2 separate regions of the Homo sapiens genome follow, and region 2 is linked to region 1. Evidence: promoter capture Hi-C in 16 types of primary human blood cells and fetal thymus (Javierre and others, 2016). All regions are on one chromosome and are shown on one strand. The core of a region is centred on a gene start or on the middle of the fragment in contact, and the rest is flanking DNA. Distances in the headings are between cores, read along the strand shown. Region 1 holds the start of NABP1 (nucleic acid binding protein 1). Region 2 overlaps FLJ46875 (a long non-coding RNA gene).

Evidence for each region. The method cuts DNA at HindIII sites, captures the fragments that hold promoters and counts their contacts. A CHiCAGO score of 5 or more calls a contact.
Region 2: a fragment that was not itself captured here is called in contact with the fragment with the promoter of NABP1 in region 1 in 1 of 17 cell types (fetal thymus); the score reaches 6.9 in fetal thymus.

Annotation. Positions count from the first base shown.
Region 1 is chr2:191,674,376-191,680,847 of GRCh38, forward strand. It overlaps NABP1 (nucleic acid binding protein 1), which reads left to right and starts at 3,761. Exons shown (of 6, transcript NM_001031716.5): 1 at 3,761-4,330; 2 at 4,615-4,753. The coding sequence starts at 4,240. RefSeq lists silencers at 1,368-1,662, 3,453-3,802, 4,403-4,462 and enhancers at 1,610-1,719, 3,313-3,392, 3,602-4,104, 4,932-6,131. The HindIII fragment of the contact is 1,958 bases long and covers 2,223-4,180 here.
Region 2 is chr2:156,334,670-156,340,965 of GRCh38, forward strand. FLJ46875 (a long non-coding RNA gene) reads right to left here. Exons shown (of 1, transcript NR_147695.1): 1 at 1,903-6,296. Among named protein-coding and RNA genes, the nearest start is that of FLJ46875, 4.3 kb to the right of the region's middle. RefSeq lists enhancers at 1-655, 214-313. The HindIII fragment of the contact is 5,980 bases long and covers 776-6,296 here.

The DNA of each region.
Region 1 (6,472 bases), core at 2,511-5,010:
TGCATTTTTTCCCAAGGGAAACTACAGGGTCATTCCTCACAAGTAGATTTCACTATCCCCACGCAATCAGATTTGGGGGATCAGATAACATATTAACTGCACTTATCACTGTGAATTACAAAGCCTTCGAAAAATGCAATTACCCATTTAGATAAACAAAGACATGCACTTTTTGGGGCAAATAACCTTTTTTTGTAGAAAAAGTTATTACATGTAACAGGCAGTTATTTTGAAATGCAAGCTTCATAACTTACTATAAAATGAGATCAATCACTTCACATAAGTAACACATCAAAAAGTGTAAATCAGACCATGTCTGGTGGCTCATGCCTGTAATCCCAGCACTTTGGGTGACTGAGACGGGAGGATCGCATGAGCTCAGGAGTTTGAGACCAGCCTGAGCAACACAGTGTGATTCCATCTCTACACAAAATAAAACAATTAGCTAAGGCGTGGTGGTGCACACCTGTAGTCCCAGCTACTTGGGAGGCTGAACCTGGAGGATCACTTTAGCAGAGGAGTTCCAGATTACAGTGAGCTATGGTGCAGCCACTGCATCCAGCCCGGGTGGGTGACAGAGTGAGACCTTGTCTCCAATACAAAAACAAAACCCAAAATAGTGTAAAGTGCTTATAAGTGTAAAATGCCTGGCCCATAGCAAGTGCTCAGTGTATTTGCATTTATCACTATAGGGATGATTTGTGTGGCTGTTGCTGCAATCATTACTAAACATTACTTCTGAGTCTTTTGGTTAAATTGTTTTAGGGAAATTAAGAAAATACTATTTGTTTGAGTTTTTTTTTTTTGTTTTTTTAGTTGCCAATTATGTTACAAAGTGGATTATACCTGTAAGGTGAGTGAGCACACTGTGGTTCTTGTTAATTTTTTAAATTGTTAAGTTTCACTATACAAGATATTTAAAATCAAACAGTACTTGGTACAAACAACTGTTTCATTGATGTTGTAATAGTTTTAAATAGATGGATAGTGAAAACAAAGTGAAAATAATTTTGGTAATTCCAGAAACCAAAACCTGGGAGTGAGCATGGGTACTGAGTGCTGGGTAAAATTTACAACAAAACCTTTATCAATGAGGACCCAGATAACAGAACCTTCTATGTCCAGGATTCTAATGGATGCCCTTCTGTATTACAGTGGATCTCACTAAGCATCTTTACACTAAAACATGGTGTTGAGGTTCTGGATGTAAAGTGGAAGAGTCCATCATCTCAGAGTAAGCTTATGTTTAGGCTGTGAAAAATGAAGGCTTGAAGAACAACAGCCTTAGAGAAAAGAAGACCATGAAGTAATCTTGTGTATGTATTAAAGAATCAGCAATATAATCATTATGACCTAAATGAGTAGACTGAGTGGCAGATCTATTTCACTGAATGGTAATATAAGAAAAGATATCTGCCTAGCAATAATTGTCTCCTTGACATCTCCTTTTTCTTTTTATTAACCACATCTTTGGGAGTGATTTAGAGGTAGCTGAAACCAACTAGCCTGGGCTGAACAGTTTCTGTATTGCCCAGACCATCTTGTTTCTCAAGGCTGCCTTTCGTTTTGGTTAATGAGAAAGCATATGGTTGCCATTTCCTTTCTGAGAACTGCTGAGTTAGTAGGGAAGGAAGTAGATGTTCAGCTGAGTTCTGTCCTGTGGGGGAAGGGAAGGGCTGAGCCACAGCTTGGAGTACCAGCTTCTGCTTTTGTGGGGCTTGATTTTCTGTGTCTGATTTCTTTTTATAAAATGTTCATATAATTAGCCTGAACAGCCCAACCTAATCCCTTTTCTGGGGGCAAATGATTGAGAGTTGAGTGGCAAACTTTCTTTGCCCAAACTCTTGGCCGTAACTCTTAACATTCTTAATTGGTTTCCTGTCTATTCTTAATCTTTTGAAGATCTTGTCAAACCTTAAAAAAAAAAAAAAAGAGCTCTGCCTTAAATATTGCTTCTGTGAGAATATTTTGCCTGTTTAAGAAAATACAGCTTTGAGTACAATCCAATTGAAGTGTCAAGTCCTGCCAGATAACCATGGTAGAATTAGAGCTTCTGAGCTGGATTGGGATTGAGGTTGGACGCTGGCTCTGCCATTAACTGGCATGTTTCATCATTTGTTTTATTTGATGTTGAAATTATGCTTATAATTTTATTTTACACCACTTTCCAGTATGACATCAGTGTCTTTGGCACCTTGGGCTTTATTAGTTCATGAAATGGAAGCTTCTGTTTCCTTAAAAATGCCTTGACTCTCTTGCTAATGTTGTGATAATGTTTCCAACTCTTTCTAGGGCTATAATATCTATGCTGCTTGTTTGCAAATACTTGGGAAGTGGTGGTTGATCTAAAGATACTCAGAAAGAATGGGGAGAAAATTAAGGCTTCTGACACTTTTCCCAACATTTCTGTTATCATCACCAAGAATTAACTAGATGATTCTTTAATGCCCCACTACTTTATTCTGCTATTTTATTTCTTCAGTCTGTTTTTGACTCTTATAATGACACCACTGGAAGTTAAGTCTAAACATTACCTTTAGGCTGGAGAGCTCTGGGGTCAAGATTGACTAGATTTAAAACCCAGCTCAGCCATTCTCTAGCTATCTGGTCTCTGGTGAGTTCCATCGCCTGTAAAACGGGGATTAAAAAGGGGAAAATACTGAGTATGTACTATTTGCTAGGCACTAGTTGGACAATTTATGATCCATTTAATCAATCTTCTGCTAGGCAGGGATCCCCATTTTATTATGGTTAAAAAGCTGTAATAAAAGCCAATTGACCTAAAGCTCTCACAAGTAAATAGCTGGAGCCCAGGTTTGTCTCTAAAGCACATGCTCTTTTCACTACGCGACATAAAAAAAACTTTATTAATCTTTTTTTCCAGATTATGTTTCAAGGGTTCCCACTGCTGTTGAATAATTAATTCCTTTTAGATGTACAAAAGCAAGTGCAAAGTAAAAGAAGAAAAGCTAAATGGGGAAGGTGTGTAATATGAGAGGCAGGGGGTAAGGAAAAATGAGAAGTCTGCAAAGGAATTTACGTCCTATCTGCTTAGCATTACACAGTGGAAGCCCACGTCAGACATTTGTGTTGCAGTCCTGCCTGCTCAGGGGTTGCTGGGTGACCTTCTGCAAATTACCTCATCTTTCTGGGTTTCAATTTAAGTATGCCTGAAATGAGGCGGTTGAATTGATCTCCAAATTCCCTTCTGGTGCTAAACTTCCAGCCTTGTAGCCACTGACGCCTTCACCATCCCAGCCTGTTTTCCCTTGGTACCGGACCAGCTGCCCTTGCCCGAACCCTGTTCTTCCTCGACTGCGAACTTTCTAACGTACTCACAGGTTCTAAACTCTACCGTTCCTCGTGACCGAGGGACTAAAGGGCCCGGGCAGGGGCTCAACTCTGAGAGAAAAAAAGGCAAGAAAACTCCAAAGTTGGACAGCAAGCGTCAAAAGACTGCACAGCAGGAAGGCGAAACCGAACAGAACTGCTGCTGCGCGGCGACAGCTGAAGTGGGTGGAGAACGGGAGGGCGGGGGAGGCGGGGCCGAGAGCGATTGGAAGGACGAGGGGGCGGAGCCCGCGCTGACAGCCCCCGGGGAGGAGCGAGGGAAGCTCTGCGGGCTGCGGCGGCCGGGTCCCGCCCCTTTGCTTCCCCTCCCCAGCACCAGGCGGGCGTGGCAGCAGGCGTGCCGACGCAGCGTGACTTCACAAGGGGAGGGGCGGGCCGAGGGTCCTGCCGGCGCGCGGGCGTGTTCATCAGTCGCTGTTTGGGACGCTGGGTGTGCGGTGTTCTGTCTCCGCTCCCGTTTCGCTGTCACAGCCCGTTCCTTCCCGGAGCCCGGGACAGGCTGGGCGCGCGCCCGTGTGAGTGAGCGGGACTCAGGGCAGAAGTGTCCCCTCACTGCGTTTTTTTTTCCTTTTATCCAAAGAACGGGGCAGTTAGTACGCTTGCCTTCCTGTCGCCCGGTTGGGAGCGGGGTTGGTGTGCGGAGTGGTTCGCCTTTTTTTCTTTAGAACTTGTGAGCCTTTTTTTTTTTTTTTTTTTTTTTTCTTTTTTTAGGCTCAGTGCTGTCCGGGCTGGTTTGCCCGGTCCCTGACTAACGGCTTTCTGCCCCTTCTCTCGCCACCCCTGCCCAAGGTCGCCCCTCTGCCTTCGCCCCTGTCCCGGGAGGGTGGGAAGCTTTGACCCCGCCCTGCCCACTCGCGTCTCCGCAGCCGTAGCCGCGCCTGTCCCAATATGAATAGGGTCAACGACCCACTTATTTTTATAAGAGATATTAAGCCCGGACTGAAAAACTTAAATGTCGTCTTTATTGTCCTGGAGATAGGTAAGTGGGGTTTGCAGCCTACTCCACCGCCCGCTGTGCCTCCCGGGGCGGGAGACAGGGGCGCCGGCCGCTGCGCGCCCGGGGCTCCCCTCCTCCTCCCTCCCCTCCCCCACCCACGTGGCTCTAGTGGCCTCCGCCCGAGATCGGATCCTACCTGAGGCGGGAGCCCTGGGCTTGGTCACTTCCCACCTTCCAGATGTATTAAAATACCGGAGGAGGAGTTAGCCTTTCTGGATGTCCTCATTATCTAACAACCCCTCCCTTTGATTTTTAAATCCTCACAGGACGCGTGACCAAAACCAAAGACGGCCATGAAGTGAGATCGTGCAAAGTAGCAGATAAAACGGGCAGCATCACTATTTCCGTGTGGGATGAGATCGGAGGTCTTATACAGCCAGGGGATATTATTCGGTTGACCAGAGGGTAGGTGTGCAAAAAAGTCGGGGGACCTAACAGTCTGCAGAATCGGGATTGGCCGGCTCCTGGGATCTTGGCAAGCCCTGAAGTCCCCCGCCTTTTCTGTGGGCCACTCTTGAGGAGTTTTGAACTCCTTTGGTGTTAACTTTGGGTGGTGGGCAGCGCTGGGATGTAACAGACCTTTGCAGTGAAAGGCAGTCGGTTTCAGCTGGGAAATCCGCGCCTCTACCCCGGTTTACAGGTTAAGTAGATTTTTAATTATTATTATTTTTTGGGACCGAGTCTCGCTCTGTCGCCAAGCTGGAGTGCAGTGGCGTGATCTCTCCTCACTGCAGCCTCCGCCTCGCGGGTTCAAGAGATTCTCGTGCCTCAGCCTCCCAAGTAGCTGGGACTACAGGCGTGTGCCACCACGCCCAGCTAAGTTTTGTATTTTTAGCAGAGACGGGGTTTCAGAGTGTTGCCCAGGCTGGTCTCCAACTCCTGACCTCAAGTGATCCGCGCGCCCCAACCTCCCAAAGTGCTGGGATTACAGGCGTGAGCCACCACGCCCGGCATAGATTTTTAGTTCTATTCTGAGTCAGTGAGTCTTTTTAGGAGACTGGTATAGTCCATATTTTTTCTTTTTTATAAGTTGTTTTCTCTAGTGTAGTTGCCACTCAGTTGTTTCCCACCCCTTCTCCATTTTTAATGACTTGAAATCCTGGCCAGTATTTTACATATGTTATTTAGAAATGTGGACATAAATGAAAATTATAGGTAAAGGATTTAGCATATTCTGTGATATGTCAAATTTGTACTTGGAAAAAGAGGGAAACTTTACAGTATCTGGAAGGCTCATTCTCCAAAATGATTTCTTGTGTCTTCTGCTGTAAGGTGGATGTTGCGCAAAAACCAAAGGGATACACAGAAAATGTTTGGCAGAAAGGCATCTACAATACCTTCATCCAAAAGAGTCAGTTGGCGGATAGGTGGCTTTAAAAAATACTAGAACTTTTTTTTTAAAAAATAGATTGCTTTTAGAAATTTACCAAATTTTTATCTTAGGAAGATAAAAGGGCAGAAAAGGATCTTAAAAACAGAATTTGGAAGCTTTTGAGATCAATAAAATTGTAATAATTTATCATTAACTGCAGGGAAAGTGGTGGAGATTGATGTTGGCCTAATAAGTAGAATCTTAGAAGTATTGGAAAGCACTGAGAGTAGGAGCTTAGAGCTCCTTGGTGTTACCTTGCAGGCTTACAACATCTTCAGGAAGTGAGGTAAAGTGTCATCAAAGCAGGAAGTGAGAGTCAGGACTTAGACATTTTCTTCTCATACACTGACTCATGACAGTAATTTAAACTTCCACATCTTTAAAAAACAAAAGAGAATTCCTTCTTAGGGAAGTATGGTGAGGATTGATTAGTATAATTGGAGTTTTTGGCTCCCCAAATATTTTTCACCCAATGATTGAAAGTATTTTTTACGCTAAAAACGGCATCTTATTTCAAGTATTTCATGTTCTGTAGTGACAGTCATAGGTGTTTCCATCAAAAAAATTATTGGAAAATTAAACTTATTAGTTAGGTACTATAGAATTTTAAGGGGAACAATTACCTGGGAGTACAATTTAAACGAAAATTAAAAACTATAGAAACTCTATTTACTACTTCAGTATGACCTTGAGAAGTTACTACACCTCATACTTCAGCTTCCTCTTCTGTGAAATGGGAATAATTATACCTT
Region 2 (6,296 bases), core at 2,516-5,015, about 35 Mb before region 1:
AAAAGTGAGAGTTTGGAGAGCTGGGGAGAAGGAAGGGGGTGGGGGTGGCGGTGACGCAGGGGCGCAGGCATTGACGCACCGGCCAGGCTGGGCCCAAAATAGCAGCAACTCCAGCTCAGAGGCGCCCTCCCGGGTTCCCTTCCCCTTCCGCGAGGGAGCAGGGCGCGGCCACGGGAAGCTTTCCTTGATCCCCGCGGTGGGCCAGGCTCCCGGCCGCTATTTTCAGGCAGTCGGAAACTCAAGCACAGGCACGCCGGGGTGGCAGTTATTATTTTTTAATATAGTCCTAGGAAAACGGGGGCCGGGAGAACTTGAAGGTTGTAACCACCAGCCTCCATACACATACTCCCGTCTAAGTAGATACATTCACTCTGCACGCTTCCCCCTCCCTCATTGCCATTAAAAACACATTCAGTTTAGGTTGGGTTGAGCCTGGGACAATTTGAAAATGCCTCCCCAGAGAGCTGAAAAGTGTCCTGGAGTTCTTAAAGTGAGCTCCAAGGAAGCCAAACATTGTAATATGATGCCTTATTCTTTAATAACAACCTGTCGAGTGCGGCTTCCTGATAACAGCCTTTGTCCAAGTCTTAATGCAACCAAGAATGAAGGGTCGTTTTCACAGCAGCTTATTATAACAATTATTATTAACTGGGAATATAATTAAATATAAAATTAAATATAAATTAAAATGAGAGAAAGGGGAGACCTTTCTCATCTATTCCATCATCTGTGTAAGAGTTCTCTCCTCTTCAAAGTCCTATTCTGGTTTCTGGGAAGCTTTTACTGTTTCTTAGGAAGACACGCCGGATGTAAGACTGTTAAACTCGTTTAAACCAATTTTGAATAAGCTACTTCTTAGGCTAGGGTTTCTGTAAGGCCCGGATGAGATGGGTTGGAAAGGATTCAGCATATAGATCAGAAGTGTTTAAAAAAAAAAAAAAGGCCACGCTCAAAACCCCAGACTAGTTTTCCTCACCAGATTCTGATGGGACGATGTCTCAGTAGCACCGCCAATGTGTGTGTAATTGACTGATCCAGTCAGTAGGGGGCCTGACTCCACAACGTTCAAGAGAATCACTCACACACACACACACACACACACACACACACACACACACACACACACACAAGCTATTTACTACCTAAGCTAAACCAAAGAGAATGCTGCAGGCCCAAATATTCATATTGTGCTGGAATTCATAAATAACTAAAAATCTTTGATTCTCTTCTATTTTCTCCAAAAGGGAAACAGTTTTAACACATGGGATTAGGTTCACAAAAGATTTTCTTTATTTCCTCCTGCTCATGCTTAACTCACTGTTAGGTCACAGAAGGAAAAAATCAAACTGGTAATAAAATCTCTCATTTTATCACCAAGAAGTTCAAATTGGCATACAGTTTGGAAAAATGAAAGCATGTTTTAAAATCCTATGATTACATGTTAAATAAATTATAGTTTAGAAGGAGATTCCTGTGGGTATATTTGCTAGTACATAAGAGAATGCTTTTGTGCATAGAGATTTAATTACACATATGGAATCAAAATGTAGAATTGAACAACCTTTCAGAAAATGTTAAAACGATGCTTTAGGCTAAAAGAAACTGAAATTCTGCATTTATATGACTGTAACCCTTCAAGATTCTTGAACATAAATAGTTCAAATAAAGTATTTTATAACTCAATTAAAATGACAATAATGGCTTTTTCAGGCCCCCGCAGCCGATATAACTTTAAACTATTGCCATGTATAAATGTGTAAAGTTACCCCACAATGAAGGTCTATTTTCTTAACAGTTTTTAAAATGAGTGGGAGTAAAAATTGCACCTATCCTCTTTTGAAACCAACTAAAATAAATTAAAAAGCATTACTATTAAGAAACACTATTGGATGACCACAGAAAAACATTTAGGAAAGTAATGTTACTATATTATCTTTTATGACATTAACCAATATTAGGCAGAACATATTGGTACATGTAAACATATTTTCATTAAAAATCAACATAAATAATACATATACTCACATCTAAACCAAAGTAGTTTATTTTATGCATGGCTAGGCAGATTATACTTAATAAAATTGAGCTTTTGGCATAATTTAGAAAGCAAACATGAATGTAATCCCATAGGATTTTCTATTTTAATGCATAGGAAAGAGGCCTTTAGGGATTTATTTCACCATTCTTCCCAAATGAATTCAGAATAGACCTTACAATGCAGATATAGTGAAACAGACATACCTGTTATGCTTTACGAGTTGAGGCAACTTTAAGATTTTTCATAATAAAATTACTTTGTAGAACCTATTTTTAGCATTACAAGATATATATTTTAAATTACATTTGGACAAACTCATTCACAGCATTTGTTGCCATTGGGCAGTAAGTCACATTACTGATACAAGAAATAAATTTTCACTTTGAAAAAAATCTGTTTCTGAAAATACAAAATTAGTTTTTACTTCTGAAAGTGTTTTTATTGTTTTGCTTTTGCCATTTCATTTGCATTGACAGGATAGTAATTGACCAAATTGTTTGTTCCTTTCTCATAGGATGGTTAAAGAACAAGTCAATTGCTTTGTTAATATTCACATTTTGGATAGTTGTAGCTTTTATTCAGTATTTCTCAGCCGATTTTTACCAAAAACCACTTAACACAAATACTTTTAAAATTATTTCTTTCTTTGATACAGAACTCAGTACTAGAAATGTGTAAAGATGTGCAGAAAAAAAACAGCATTCTTTTTTCTGGAAGCATCTTCTTGTAAATTGAAATTATAAAACTGAACATATGGTAAAACCTCATGCCACTCAAAAAGTATTTTGCATAATAAAAATCCTTCATTTTTTGTTAATACTTGACACCCAGTAACCATCTCCTAAATACTTGCTTTTAAATTAACCACTTAATATTTTCTTATTTAAGAACTATTTTTTATTAGGCAAAGAAGAATAACTTTGGTTTTAGATTTCATTGCTAATTTTAGTAAACATAGGCATCACTAAAATGTACAAAGTCCTAAAAGACAGTTTAAAGATTATGAAAATAAGTTGCTACATGCTAAGAAAACATCAAATATCTGCAAATTCTAAAAGTAGTTAATAGCATTATAACACTACCAGTATTAGATAGCATTTATTTAAATTTAGATAAAATACATACATTTTGCAAGTTTTTATATGTAAATCACAAGCTGGCTAGTTTTTGTTCTATCTTTAATGATAAAATAACCACTTTTGATTTTTTCCTCAGACTAATTGGTGGATGGAATGTCTCAATTTAATTTTAAAAATGAAGGTATTGATAATATTGCAACAGAGACATATATGCCCTTTTTCTCATCAGAATTCTGCAATTATCAAGCCTACAATTTTAACACTACAAAAGTAACTTAAAGCAAGGACCCTTATAGTGATAAGTAATAAATCTAATTACCATATCCTTTGAATAGATGTAATATAAATTTCATTGCTCACTTAAAAGTTCTAAAGTTAACAGCATAAACTTGAAGTTGAGTAATTAAGTAATCCTTATATAGACACTTATTAAAGTATTTATACATATTATCTTAAATCTACATCTATCATTTTGCCAATTAAAATTAGGACTTTAATTGCAATTAAGTAATTTAATTGCCAATTGAACAGCAAAATTGCTAAGTGACTAATTTTAATGCCTATTTTAATTACCAATCATGACTGGGGAGGGAGCTAATCAAGTTACATCAAGCAGCACCAGAGTAATGATGTGAAAAAAAAAAAAAGGGTAGAACAAACATTCAAGGCTACATGCTTCAAAAAAAGAAACATAAATTAAATAAATGCAAACACAATCCTATAAATGTATAAAATACTGTATTTCAATATCTCAATACAGAACATGAAAGGAAACAAGATTAATTAAAGAAACCCCTGTCAATCTTCAAAGTAAGGACAACCAAAGTCAAATTTTATATGGTATTTACATGGCACCCATGCTAACCCAGATAAAAACAAAAGCTGTATACAGTCGAGAATAAAAGGCTGTTTCCTGCTTGGCTGGTTAAATATTTACAGACTGGCAGTTAAAAAAAATTCTTAAATGAAATACCATAAAACAGAGAAACAAGTTTCCAAATGCAACAACGTGGATTTTGCATTTGAAAAGCCAACAGGGCAAGTGCAATGGGGCACTATACTCTTTCCTGGTTGTTCCTCTCAGCCACACTCACTTGAATGAAGAGTTCTATGAGAGGCCTAATGCCTATCCATAGCTGTCCCATGTTACCCTGAGAAAAACAGACACCTGGCCAATCTTAAATATTTTAAATTTATTCGGGAGTAAAAATAAGAAAGCGGCTAGGATTACATCACAGTTAAAATTATTTGGCATGGGGAATATACCTAATTCAATAGTCATTCTTCATTCAGTTAGAATAAACATGCCCACTCAAGATAAAGGCTGAAAACCAGCAGGCAACCAGAAACACTGGTGAAATTTTTCTTGGACAACACAAACATATTTTCAAAAGTTTTCATATTCAGACTAATTCTCAGATTAGCAATATGGAGGGGCACTATTGAAAGGAGGAGGTGAAGTTGAGAACTCAAAAAATAGAAAGTGATTCCCTGTAGATAGTAACAATTCTAGTACTTTCTGACTGTAGGGTTTCCCTTGGCAGCCAGCCACCTCATTTAGAGTAACAATGGACATCCATCAAATCTTCATTTAAAATAAAAGTCATGCTGCAAGATACATATTTTATTTTTGTTGCCATATATATATACCAAAAATATACCTACTTATGTCTACAAAAGGGCCCAAGATTATTAATGAAATATATGTAAGCCTATAACTTGAGGAACAGCAAATCGTGCGGCTTGGGATTTTATTTACTAATGGACTTCAATTGTGAAATGAAGCACAGCAGGACTTTCGGCCTGGCTTTTGAAGAAGGAACACTTTAATAATCACTGGGCCTGACAAGACTGCAATATCTGTTCATGACAATAACAGCTTTATAAAGCAAGTTCTGTGTGACTGATTAAAGGACACACTCACCGCCTATTCACAAGTCATGGAGATGGAGTCATTATTGACAAGCTCACCATCACTACTGATCACATTTAAGACACATCGAGTGCTGGTGCTACAAAGAGAAATAAAACCTCAGCCATTAAAAGATTTAAAAAACAGCCCCAGAAGACAAGATTGCCATAACTTATGTATATCTTAATGTGTTCTGTATAAGATTTTCTCCTATATACACACACAAAGGATCTTATTTGATAATAATTATCAAAATTATCGAACTAAAGCACTAGGTAACAAATCAGCCACTACAAAGGAAAAAAAAAAGGAGAAGCATCGTCTTATAATTTCACAATAATTATGAAAGGACATGATATATAGACAAACTTTCAAAATGTTAACACTTTCCGAAACTTGACATGACTGAAAGTAAATACTTTTTCAGACTGTTCATGTCTATCTTAGGCATTCTGCTAGTCATTAGTTTACATGAATTAATGTTTACATAGTGCCAGAAGCAAAAAGTTTTAAAAGTATGTCTCTACCTTTCAGATATCCCTTAGTAGGTAAAAGTAAACATAAAGTTTAGAAATTCTAGTAAGTTATTTTACTTTTTGCCCTTAAAGTATTGTCTTCCCGTGTGATCTATCTGTATTAGTGAATAGAAAATAAAGGATACAGTAAGACAACCACGTTTATAATCTGAAATTAAAGGCAATCAATTAAAACATTTTATTAGTCACCAGGATATTTAAAAATGAGACCTGTGAAATATTGCAGAATCACTCCACTAGGAGAGAAGCAGCAACTTAAGTATGCTGTCACTGACATGTTGGGAGGAAAAAGCAAACTACCAGTACCACCATGTACATGATTCAAATTAAGCTACATAAATAGTGAGTGCATGGGGTTGTGGGTACAGAAACTGGTTCGCTGAGGAGGTGCTACTTACATTTCCTGTATTTCATATTTCTGAGAACTGTCTTCTGTAATTTCCAAAGTGTAGGAATGGTTGAAGTTTGAAAATAAATGGAGAATTTCAAATAGTTAATGAATAGATTTAGGAGCTATACTGAAACAACTAGCAGAAAATACATTTTCTGGAGTTCTTTAATTTTGTACGCTTAAAAGTATGGTGTTCCTAAAGATGGCTAATTCTTGTTGAAGTAAGTAGCTCTGGAAGTCATATTTTCCATTTCTCCATACTTCATCTATTAATCAGTTGACTGGCAATTTCCGACACCAGTTTTGCTAAACTTTATAAATTTTGCTTCCTCCAGAGGTA